2 separate regions of the Homo sapiens genome follow, and region 1 is linked to region 2. Evidence: promoter capture Hi-C in 16 types of primary human blood cells and fetal thymus (Javierre and others, 2016). All regions are on one chromosome and are shown on one strand. Each heading gives the region's core, a stretch centred on a gene start or on the middle of the fragment in contact. The rest is flanking DNA. Distances are from core to core; before and after follow the strand shown. Region 1 overlaps ST6GAL1 (ST6 beta-galactoside alpha-2,6-sialyltransferase 1). Region 2 holds the start of TRA2B (transformer 2 beta homolog).

The links. Contacts are between HindIII fragments. The CHiCAGO score rates a contact against its expected background, and 5 or more counts as called.
Region 1: a fragment that was not itself captured here is called in contact with the fragment with the promoter of TRA2B in region 2 in 1 of 17 cell types (naive CD8 T cells); the score reaches 11.1 in naive CD8 T cells.

What each region holds. Positions count from the first base shown.
Region 1 is chr3:187,024,158-187,030,580 of GRCh38, reverse strand. All of the region lies in intron 2 of ST6GAL1 (ST6 beta-galactoside alpha-2,6-sialyltransferase 1), which reads right to left. Among named protein-coding and RNA genes, the nearest start is that of ST6GAL1, 97 kb to the right of the region's middle. RefSeq lists an enhancer at 4,391-4,720 and a silencer at 6,274-6,363. The HindIII fragment of the contact is 2,635 bases long and covers 682-3,316 here.
Region 2 is chr3:185,936,708-185,942,899 of GRCh38, reverse strand. It overlaps TRA2B (transformer 2 beta homolog), which reads left to right and starts at 4,886. Exons shown (of 9, transcript NM_004593.3): 1 at 4,886-5,075. The coding sequence starts at 5,040. RefSeq lists enhancers at 4,955-5,414, 4,825-5,552, 5,455-5,664. The HindIII fragment of the contact is 7,639 bases long and covers 1-6,192 here.

The DNA of each region.
Region 1 (6,423 bases), core at 750-3,249, 1.1 Mb before region 2:
GCGCCTGTAATCCCAGCTACTTGAGAGGCTGAGGCAGGAGGATCGCTTGAATCCGGGAGGCGGAGGTTGAAGTGAGCTGAGATTGCACCACTGCACTCCAGCCTGGACAACAGAGCAAGACTCTGTCTAAAAAATAAAATAAAAAATGAATAACTATAAACCCAGTGTTTTAAGCTCTACTCACTGGAGCCACATAGACTCAGATGGTGAACCTCTAACACTTGTTGCCTCTAGCAAGTGTTAGACTGAACCTCTAACACATGCTATTTGTCAGGCTCAAAGTGAAGAGCATCACATGCATCAATGCATGTCATCCTCACAGAGACCCTGTGCAGACAGCGCTACCTATGACCCCACTTACCTGGCTGCAGCCATCTTCTCCCCCACCCAAAATACCGTGCTTCGTTGCCTGAATATTTTAGCTCCAACACTGTTTCTATCATAACTCCTTGTGATATTAATATCCACTTTTAGGATATTCTAGTCCTCTGGCCTCACAGTCCTTTGATCTCCTCTACCCCAGTGATTGTGACCACGGCCACTCACTCCCAGAGTTGTATCTCTGATCTTGTTATTTCCCAACAATACCTTCCATAATCTTGAGTTCAGGCATCCCATCTCCAATTACCACTCCTGTCTATATGCAGCCTATTCCAACTAGTACCCCAACTCCAACAAGCTTCTGTGGTTAATCCTTCCACCTGTCACTGTTCCTCACTTTCCTCATATTCTTACTTCCCTTCCTACACAGCTTAAATTCCATGGTCAAAATCATTAAAATGAGTCCTTTGCCCTCTTTGATCACACATGATTGGCTAAAACTCAATCCTGGTTAAATCCAACCCTCTGTTCTGCTCCACACCAGCAAACATGCAACTGAGCATGGCTAGAGAAAATTGTACAACAATGCTTACTGATTTCACTTCAAGTTCGCGATCCCTAACTGCCAGGAGGTCCTTAATGCTTTTCAGAAATCACATGCTACTTGTCCAGTCTATTCATCTGGCACTCGCCCACTACTTGACTTCCTCCTTTCAATCTCCCTCTCCTGTGATGAATTTGCTACTTGTTCATGGAGAAAACAAAAGCTGCCAGATTAGAACTTCCTCAAACCCCCTAACAGAGCCCCCTTTATCTGCATTTATGTCCATATGCCTCATTACTATAGATGAACTGGCTATGTCCAACACTTGCAATAACCAACACTTGTCCACTAGATCCTACACATTATTGTTTACTTAAGAAAGTTGTTCTAGAAAACCTCACCCCTTTGTTTAATTGATAAGTATCCCTCTCTCAAAGATTACTCCCATCAACATATAGACACGCTGCTGCTCTTAAAAAGCAAAATCAAAACACCTCTCGTGAGTCAAGCAGCCGTGACCTGACCCTGATCAGTCTTTTAGCATCATTAACAGTGAGACATCTAGATAGTGTGTGCCTTCTGATGTGACGTGACATGAAGCACCTATGAAAAATTCTTTTTTTTTTTAGAGACAAGGTCTTGCTTTGTCACCCAGGCTGGAGTACACAGTGGCACAATCTCTGTTCACCGCAACCTCCACCTCCCAGGTTCAAGCGATTCTCCTGCCTCAGCCTCCCGAGTAGCTGGGATCACAGGCGTGCACCACCACGCCCTGCTAACCACCTATGAAAAATTCTTGCCCAAAATGTTTAATCTGTATATTATCAAGCTGTCATACACAATTCCAGTTTTTAGGAAATACAGAAGAAAGAAGAACAAGTCAAATAGCGCCAAAGGAAAATTATCAGACAAATCCAGAAGGTAGGACTTCCTATGGGACAACTGAACTGGTTTCATCAACAAGTAAATGGGAATAAAAAACAAATGGCTTCGCAGATATAATAATATGTAATACGTACACCTTGTCTGAATCTTGGTTTGATTCACCTTGGGGACAAATGGGGATATTGGAACATAGATTGGTTATTATATGGTATTAAGAAATTATTGTTAATTTTGTTAGGTGTATAAAAGTATTGTGGTTATATAAAGAAAAAGTCCTATGCATGTGAAGTAGTAAGAGATGAAATCTACTTTAAAAATCTACTTTAAAATACTCCAGCCAAAAAATAGATTCAGCAAATATGAAAATAATGCAATGTCATTTTTTGGATGTATTCAAATTAAGCTATGTAACAAGACTGATTTTCAAACTCCTTTCTTCTTAGACAGTGATATAGTTTGGGAGTGGGGAGAGTTTTAAAGAGCTTGAAGAAAAAAGTCACGATAGACAATTGTTTCTGTTTTACTCAAGGAATTAACTAAAAGATATATGACTTTAGAGAAGTCATATATTGAGCCACTTATTGCATGAGTTCTAAATAAACTCCACTTCCCTGCCCTGACCCTAAACCTCTTGACCTCATTTCTCTTCTTTAAAATGCCTTATTTCTCTTTCCTTTACAGTAAAACTCCTTGAAAGACAGTCCATAGTCTTGTTTGCAATAGCTATCTTCCCACTCTCACTTGAACCCACTCCAACCAGGCCTCCCCATCTCCATGAACCTGATCTTGTCAGAGTCACAAGGACCTCCACGATCTCCACATTGCTAACCAAATGGTCAATGTTCAGTCTTCATCTTATTCAGCTCATCAGCAGTCCATAACTTCCTCTTCCTTGATGCATATTCTTCACCTAGCTTCCAAAACCTATACTTCTCCTGGCTTTTCTCTGCCTTACCGGTAATGCCTTACTGGTCTCGTTGCTGGCTCCTTCTCTTCTGCCCCACTTTATGCACAGAAATGCCCTAGACCTGCCCTTTCTCTACCTATACTCACCCTCTACTGCTTGTGAGCATCTTGCGGTCAGCTCTCCACCTACCCAGCCCCCTGCAGTTTGAGCTCAATACCTGTTTGTTGAAGTGCACTGAGTCCGGAAAGTCGGTTCTGTCAGTGAGCTTCTACAGAAAGGAAGCCTTTGAAAATTTTTTTTGAGAAAAGAAGACGGGGCAAGAAGGGGGGCCGGAATAAAACACTGCACTCACTTCACTATTTACCCTCTTATCTGTTATCTGTAGAGAGGAGGCAACACTGAGGAGCACAGTGATTCTCAGACTTAGAGCACACCCAAATTATTAAAATCACTTGTTAAAATGCGGGTTCCTGAATTCTGTCTCAATCATTCTGATTCAAGTAGTCTGGGAGGTTGGGAGAATATTGGGGGGAAGTTGGAAATCTGCATTTAATAAGCACCCCAGGTAATTAATTCTCAGGCAAGTGGTGAGAAACAGGTCGCTGAGAACAGTGCTACTGAAAGTGAGATCTGCAGAGAAGTGCTAGGCTGAGAAAGCTTTTCAAGATGCAAGATGAGAAAAGTACAGAAATGGAGTGTAAGTGACTTTTACAGTAATTTTAAAGAGTAATTTTATGCCTGTTAGATCAATACTTTTTAAAATGGGGCTTGTATTTCAAATGTCCTTTTTCTCATTTCATGATTCTGGAATCCATGCTTTTTTATTTATTTGTTTATTTTATTTTTTATTTTTTATTTATTTATTTATTTTTTTGGAGACAGAGTCTCCCTCTGTCGCCCAGGCTGGAGTGCAGTGGTGAGATCTCGGCTCACTGCAAGCTCTGCCTCCAGGGTTCACTCCATTCTCCCGCCTCAGCCTCCCCAGTAGCTGGGACTACAGGTGCCCGCCACCATGCCTGGCTAATTTTGTTTTTGTGTTTTTAGTAGAGATGGGGTTTCACCGTGTTAGCCAGGATGGTCTCGATCTCCTGACCTCATGATCCACCCGCCTCGGCCTCCCAAAGTGCTGGGATTACAGGCGTGAGCCACCGCACCTGGCCCCATTTTTATTGTATTTTACGTAACTACTGATGTGAGAGGAATTGGGAAAAAAAATTTGGTTCTTCACCACCAATAGTTTGAGAAGCCTTGGCTTTGGAGAAACAGTTCACTCAGGCTCTAGTCTCAAAAAGCTAGATTGAAATCCTGGCTTTTGTACTGTAAGTTATCTTAGGCCAATTAGTCAGTTTCTGTGAACCTTGTGTCTTCATCTGCGAAGGATAACAATACTTAAAAGGTTGCCTCTGCAGGGCTGTGCTGACAATTTAATGATAGATTTTTATCACTTTATTTTAGCTAATAATTAATGAGCTTTTACTATGTGCTAAGTAATTTACAGGCAGTAAAGGTCCTGTAATTTGGTGAAGCTCATTTAATTCCTGCAGCAACAACAGTGCCCAAGGCGAGCACTGTTATCACCATGTGCTTCACAGAGTCCCCAGAGGAGCCTGCCCAGGCTGTCTGGCTCTACCACCCCAGCTCCTACCCACCGAGCTCTATCAAGCGGGAACCAACATGGGTCAAAACATTAATCATTTGTCAAAACATTTCTGACAAGTCACCGTTTTGCTCAAAAGCGCAGCAAAGGTCAGAAGCATGATATGCAACAAGAAACCGACTTGTAGCTGGTGAATCTGAGAAGACAGTGAAAGAAAGGAAGCCATGAGGGGCGCGCAGTGCCTGAGAGGCTGTGACTGTTGGCAAGTGTTTACCTGAGGACAGGCCCACCTGCATGGCTCATGGTGGGGAGGGGGAGATCCTGCCCAGAGCAAAGCCCTGAAGATAAAGGGCTTTCACTCCTGCCAAGGGTCTCTTACCAGAGATTACATCTTTTCCCAGCCAGGCAGCACTGATAATGAAGTCCTCAGAACATTTCCCTGAGTACATTTCCCCAGAGGTTTTCTAAGAGTCTGGAGAACAGAACTTTGTTGGGGGGTGTTGTGTCCCCACCATGAGGTCAGGCTGCGGTCCCTGACCAGAGCCAACCACTCGGAACTGATTAGGAGAGCTCTGAACTCCAGATTGACACAGCCATGGCAAAGGGAAATCATGAGCCATTTGCTACTGTCTTCACCCTTGCACCCCATGCACAGACAGACAGACTTGTATTCATAGAAATATCTGCCTTCCTATTTGACAGGTGCCTGGCAAAAAGTAGGCCTTTCGTGCCCCATGAATTCCCTTTCTGTATAATGCCCACTCCCCACTACACACCCCAGCCCCAGGAGGCATCTCCCACATGCTCACCACACAATTTGCACTCCGCTTGGTAAATCAGCATTAAGCAGAGGAGAGCGCAGGAAGGGCCTATATAGAGAGTGGAAAAAACACTTCACCCCTCCCCAGCAACACAGCTACCCACTCTTTCCTCCACATCCCTACACTACACCACACCCCTATGCTACAGAGAGCCAGACAAAGAAGAAAACGGGCCCGCCATCTCCTCAGAAAGAGGAACTGTCTCACCTCCTAATCTTTACTACACTGCTTCGATTTTTCTTGGAGTAATTTAAAGCAAACGCCAGACTTTGTATCAGTTTCCTGCTACCAGCTCTTCCCAACTGCGGATCCAACAAAAAATTAAGCCTTAATGTCCTAAGACCTCCATTGTATGCAACGCATCAACTAACTCCCATGGCATCGAGAATTACCTACGTACCACCCCTGGCAGAATCGTACCACCCCTGGGAGAATTGAGAACGTAGACCCTCAGATTCTCTACACTGTGAGACACACACACACAGACACACACACACACACACACACACACACACACGCACCAGGTTCTGCCAGAGAATATATGAATATAAATAATAATTCAATATGATCACAATGCCAATATCACCCAATATCCAACCCACCTTTAAATGTTTACCAATTCTCTCAATAATGTCTTTTACACTAACCTGCTCAAAAGGGGATCCAAACAAGGACAGGACATTTTGTTTGGATGACTGGATGATGTGCCATTTTCAATTCTCTCTTATCTAGAAGAGTTCCTCGCTCCCTTACTTCTTCTTTTCCACGGCATATATTTGTTGAAAAAATGAAGTCATTTCTCCTGTGGAGTGGCTTATGTTCTGAGCCTGGCTCACGGCTTCCTCAGGGTGTTGTTTAATGTTCTCCTCTCTGCTCTGTGTTTCCTTAAACTGAGTGTTAGATTTCAAGGCTTGTTGAGATTTGGTGGTTTCAAATTCAATGGTTCTCCCAGGCTTTTTTTGTTAAAATATATACACATATACTCTCTCTCTCTCTCTCTCTCTCTCTCTCTATATATATATATATATATACACATATATATGTGTATATATGTGTGTGTGTATATATATATAGAGTATATGTGTGTGTGTATATATATATATAAAACATTTAGGCTGGGCGCGGTGGCTCATGCCTGTAATCCCAGCACTTTGGGAGGCCGAGGCGGGCAGATCACGAGGTCAGGAGATCAAGACCATCTGGCTAACATGGTGAAACCCCCGTCTCTACTAAAAATACAAAAAATTAGCCAGGCGTGGAGGCATGCACCTGTAGTCCCAGCTACTCAGGAGGCTGAGGCAGGAGAATCACTTGAACCTGGAGGCGGAGATTGCAGTGAGCAGAGATC
Region 2 (6,192 bases), core at 3,637-6,136:
ACCCCTCAATACTTCTCTACTGCCCATTAAATAAAATCTGAACTCCTTAGCTAGGCATACATGGTCATCTGTGATCTGCTCCTTGCCTGTTATCCAGTATGTTGAATGACTAAATGAGAGAAGGCAAAACAAAACAACAACAAAAAAAACAAAAACCCCACTAAAGACAGAATGCACTAGTGAATCCCAGGGCAGAAGTTGAAAATTAAACAAGAAATGCTGGAGGAGAGAGTCTATGACTCTGGAAGGAGACAACAACAAACAAATTTGAGTGCAGCCTCTGGCTTGGCTCTAAGCTACAGGAGTAAGCCTGTTAGACAGCATTCCCTGTTGGGTGCATTATTTTCTCTGTATATATCTCCCCTACCAGGACTAGACATTTTTGTTGTTGTTGTTTTTGTTTTTTGAGATGGAGTCTCACTCTGTCATCCAGGCCGGAGTGCAGTGGTGCAATCTCGGCTCACTGAAACCTCCACTGCCCAGGTTCAAGCGATTTTCCTACCTCAGCCTCCTGAGTAGCTGGGATTACAGGTGCCTGCCACCACGCCCAGCTAATTTTTGTATTTTTAGTAGAGACGGGGTTTCACCATGTTGGCCAGGCTGGTCTCGAATTCCTGACCTCAGATGATCCACCTGCCTCAGCCTCCCAAAGTGCTGGGATTATAGATGTGAGCCACCTCACTCAGCCTAGGGCTCAAGGTTTTTACAGTCATTTCTGACTATCCCTTTCCCCATATTCCTATCACATTGGCCAGTCAAGCCCACCCTTTCATAGTCTCCCTACTCCCTGCTTAGTCCTCATTCTTGCTGCCTTGGGAATCTAATCCTCACTGCCTCATATTTACAGTACTGGATCCATATCCCACATGGCCACTCATTCAACAGCATGGCCCTGCGCTAGATGCTGGAGACACAGACATGAATGACACAAGACCTGCAGCCTGACCTTCCTATCTTTGCCAGGACAATCTTGCCTACTTTTAGCAAGTTAGTCTCCTGCTCAGGGACCTCTAAAGGCACCCTGATGCCTACCCAATCAATTCTAAATTCATACGTTGCTTTCTTTTAATCACTCAACAAGTACTACTAAAGGCTTACTGTGTGCCAAGCACTACGTATAAGGCAGTGGTCAAAAGAGGCACTGGCCCTGCCCTTAAGGAACTTATTATCTAGTGTGGAAGACAGACATAAAAACTATATTCACAGAAATAATAATGCAAATAGGGCTGAGCGCAGTGGCTAATGCCTGTAATCCCAGAACTTTGGGAGGCCAAGGCGGGCAGATCCCAAGGTCAGGAGATCGAGACCATCCTGGCTAACACAGTGAAACCCCGTCTCTACTAAAAATACAAAAATTAGCCGGGCGTGGTGGCGGGCGCCTGTAGCCCCAGCTACTCCAGAGGCTGAGGCAGGAGAATTGCTTGAACCCAGGAGGCGGAGTTTGCAGTGAGCCAAGATCGCGCCACTGCACTCCAGCCTGGGCGCCAGAGCGAGACTCTGTCTCAAAAAAAAAAAAAAAAACCCACAAAGAAATAATAATGAAAATAAAATAATTATATAATTATTATTCTTTAATTATAGTTGTGAGTAATATGAATGTCAAGGGGTGCCATAAGAATGTATAAACAAGAGATCTAATCTAAGCCAAAAAGTAAGATAAGGCCAGAGATCTGAGTAGGAGTCCAGGTTTAGGTGTGTGTTGGGAGTACAGGTGTTCTCAGAAAAAGGGGACAGCTCATTCAGAAGTTATTTAGTCACTTGACACTTGAGTCATCACCAAATCTCTGGATCTCAGGTACCTCAAATATTGATTCTGTTCTGGATGACTATTTTACCAAACAAGAGCCAAATTGCAAGCTCTTATAACTCAATAATAAAAAGATAAATAACCCAATTAAAAATGGGCAAAGTATCAGAATATTCGTTTCTCCAAAGATCTACAAATCACCAATAAACGCATGAAAGCATTATCATTATCGCTAGGGAAATGCAAACCAAAACCACATCGAGATACCACTTTAAACCCACTAGAGTGGTTATAATTTTTTTTGAGACAGATTTTTGCTCTTGTTGCCCAGGCTGGAGTACAATGGCACGATCTTGGCTCACCGCAACCTCCGCCTACCAGGTTCAAGCAATTCTCCTGCCTCAGCCTCCCGAGTAACTGGGATTACAGGCATGTACCACCACGCCCGGCTAACTTTGTATTTTTAGTAGAGACGGGGTTTCGCCATGTTGAGGCTGGTCTCAAACTCCTGACCTCAGGTGATCCGCCCACCTCAGCCTCCCAAAGTGCTGGGATTACAGGCATAAGCCACCACGCCTGGTCAATTTTTTTTAATACAATATAACAAGTATTGGTGAGGATGTGGAGAAATTGGAAGCCACATACACTGCTGGTGGCAGTGTGAAATGTAAAATGAATGCAGCCACTGTGGAAAACTGTTTGGCAGTTTCCCCCCAAATTAACCGTAGGGTTACTATACAATCCAGCAATTCCATTCCTAGGTGTATACCTAAGAGAGATAAAAACATGTGCTCGTACAAAAATTTGTACATGAATGTTCACAGCAGGATTATTCATAAGTTAAAAAATGGAAACTATCCAAATGTCTATTAAATGATGAATGGATAAATAAAATGTCATATATCCATACAACTGAATATAACTTGACAATGAAAAAGAATGAAATAGTAGTACATGCTACAACATGGATGAACCGTGAAAACGTACGCCAAGGAAGCCAGTTACAAAAGATACATACCATATGATTCCATTCATATAAAATGTCCTGAATAGGTTAATCTATTGAGAAAGAAAGATTTGTGATTGCCTAGGACTGGGAGGGTTGTGAGGAGTGGAGAGGAGGAGGGATGCAAAATGACTATTAATGAGTGTTTCTTTTCTTAATGTGATGAGACTACTCTAAAATTGTGGTGATGGTTGCACAATTCTGTGAATAAAAGCCATTTGAACTGTACACTTTAAATAAGGGAACTGCATAGTAGGTGAGTCGTATCTCAATAAAGCTGTTAAAAAAAATCAGGAGTTGGGGATATGGGGCTGAGGCAGGAGGAACACTTGAGACTGGGAGGTGCAATGAGCCACCGCACTCCAGCCTGCACGACAGAGCCAGAGAGACCCTGTCTCAAAAAAAAAAAAAAAAAATCAAATGACCCTTTACCAGTATCAAAGTGCCTCATCAGCCAGGTACCACCTTTTCAATGGATGGGGAGACTGAAGTGTAGAGGAATTAAGTATCCGACTTGGGGGTTGGGGGAAGTGGCTCACGCCTGTAATCCCAACACTTTGGGAGGCCGAGGTGGGAGGATCGCTTGAGCCCAGGAGACCAGCCTGGCCAATATGCCAAAACTCCGTCTCTATAAAAAATACAAAAAATTAGCCTGGCGTGTTGGCAGGCGCCTGTAATTCCAGCTGCTACGGAGGCTGAGGCGGAGAATCACTTGAACCCGGGAGGCAGACGTTGCAGTGAGCCGAGATCGCGCCGTTGCACTCCAGTCTGAGCGACAAAGCAAGACTCCGTCTCAAAAAAAAGAAGAAAGAAAGTATCCGACTTGGTCTTGGGCTCTTCTCACTATAATCCAACTATATTCTCTTACGAAATGGCAGAATTAATCTTCCCTCCTTGTGACACCCCTGTAGTTATACATGCCTCTGGCACTTACAATCATTTTTTCTAATTGTGTTTAACGGTTCTAGCACATTACTTTGTAACTTTAGAATAGAGATTGTGTCTGATTCCTGTGTATTAAGGTCCGACCTTTTTTATTTTTATTTATTTATTTTTTAGACAGAGTCTCGCTCTGTCGCCCAGGCTGGAGTGCAGCGGTCCGATCTCGGCTCACTGCAACCTCCGCCTCCCGGGTTCAAGCGATTCTCCTGCCTCAGCCTCCCGAGTGGCTGGGATTACAGGCATGCATCACCACTCCCGGCTAATTTTTTTGTATTTTTAGTAAAGACTGGGTTTCACCATGTTGGCCAGGCTGGTCTCGAACTCCTGACCATGTGATCCGCCTGCCTCGGCCTCTCAAAGTGCTGGGATTACAGGCGTGAGCCACCGCACCCAGCCGATCTGACCTTTTTTTTTTTTTTTTTTTTTTTTTGAGACGGAATCTCGCTCTATTGCCCAGGCTGGAGTGCAGTGGCGCGATCTCGGCTCACTGCAAGCTCCGCCTCCTGGGTTCACGCCATTCTCCTGCCTCAGCCTCCCAAGTAGCTGGGACTACAGGCGCCCGCCACCGCGCCTGGCTAATTTTTTTGTATTTTTAGTAGAGACGGAGTTTCACTGGGTTAGCCAGAATGGTTTCGATCTCCTGACCTCGTGATCCACCCGTCTCGGCCTCCCAAAGTGCTAGGATTACAGCGTGAGCCAGCGCGCCCAGCCCGATCTGACCTTTTTTAAATGAAGACGTATTCAGGAAGGAAATATCTACAAGTAAGACAAAATTAAGTAAGAACCCAATGTACGAACATTCACTTCTCTAACAAAGGAAAGACACAAAACAAGAAACTAATAAGGCGGAGAAAGGAATTGAGATTGGGGGAAACAGCATCTCCTTCCTCCCTGCACACTCGGCAGGTTCCCTGGAAAGTTCTAGAAGGGATTCAGAAGTGGCTGGTGACATCACTGTGGCTCCGTGGCGCCCACTACAGCAGCCAAACGACACGCTAGCTTTCCCGCCTCATAGAGGCTCGTGAATGGGGGTGGGGCCCTGCGAGGGGCGGGGTCACGTCACTTCCTGTGCGGGACGCGCTGCAGCTGGAGAGGAAAGGCAGAGCGAGGAGGGGCGAGGCCAAGAAAGCGCGCGTTTCTGGGAGGGGAGGAGCCTGGCTAAGGAGCGCCGCGTCACATCCGGTAGAGTTAGAGCCCGTGCGGAGGCGGTGCGGAGCATTTCGGCTCTGAGCGGCTGGGCGACCGGCGCGTCGTGCGGGGCTGCGGCGGAGCCTCCTTAAGGAAGGTGCAAGAGGTTGGCAGCTTCGATTGAAGCACATCGACCGGCGACAGCAGCCAGGAGTCATGAGCGACAGCGGCGAGCAGAACTACGGCGAGCGGGTACGTAGAGCTGCGGTAGGGGGTGGCTGTGTGGTCCTAGCTCCTTGCATCTTTTTCTAGGCCCGTCGGCCTCGGGCCAGGAGGCAGGGGCGTTTTAGGCTCCGAAGTCTGAAGCCGGGAGGGCAGGCAAGGGAGACAGCATTTAACCAAAAAAAGCCTTTGTGGATAGTGCCTTAGTGCCTTTGGTCGTGAAGGAGGGAGGCCCCCGGCGGGTTTATGTGGCTTCTGCCCGAGACGGCCGTTTTTCCCGTTATAAGAGGGGGAAGATGAAAATGGCCGCTGCGTCCCCGCGGTGTTGGGGGAGGGGAGCGATATCTTATTTCGGCGTTGCTCTCCTGCGAAGGTCCGCCGCAGCCATCTTGGGCTGGCGGGCTGGGCGAGCTGCCAGAGGCACAAAATGGCGGAGAAGCCGCGCGGCAACGCGGACCCGACCCGCAGCGGGCCGCGCTTCGTAAGGCCGCGTGGTGGGGTGCAAGGGGACAGACGACGTTCTTTTGGGTCTTTGGGCCGGTGTTTAGGTTAACGAAGGACCGTCTTTGCCTCCACGGAAAGGACGGAGTCTGGGATGTCTTTGGGGCCTCTTAAGATGGAAACTAATCCAAGGCCGACTAAGTTCTGGGCCCGTTAGGTGGAGGGGATTGCGTGAGGGCTTTGTGTTTGGCCTAAATGAAGCGCTTTTCTCTGATGCCGAAAGGGCTTCCCAGGCAAAAATCTGTATCAGTATTCTATTAGGACAGACCACAAAGTCGTTAAGATGATTTTGTGGACATCGCATTTCCACGGGATTGTGAAGGAGAAATTGGCGGGCAACCATTTACGGCGCCGTTATTTCCTTTGTTTTGAGGCGTTCTAATACTTAGAACCACAGCGTGTGTTGGCTACAGTTTTCTTTCCCTTAAGTTTCCACCTCTTAAAGGTGTTCAGTGAGGGTTGATTGAATTGCGGGAACAAGACAGTTCTAGGGTTTAAACAGCATACGTAGCTGGTCTGTGGGGCTCTGGGTATTGGATTCGGAAAGCATTGAATGATGCGAACATACGAGGCTTGCTAGAATTAAGAGGAATCTGTTAGAAGGGTGATAGAAAAGCACCATAGAAATTGATTTTTGAGGCTGTGG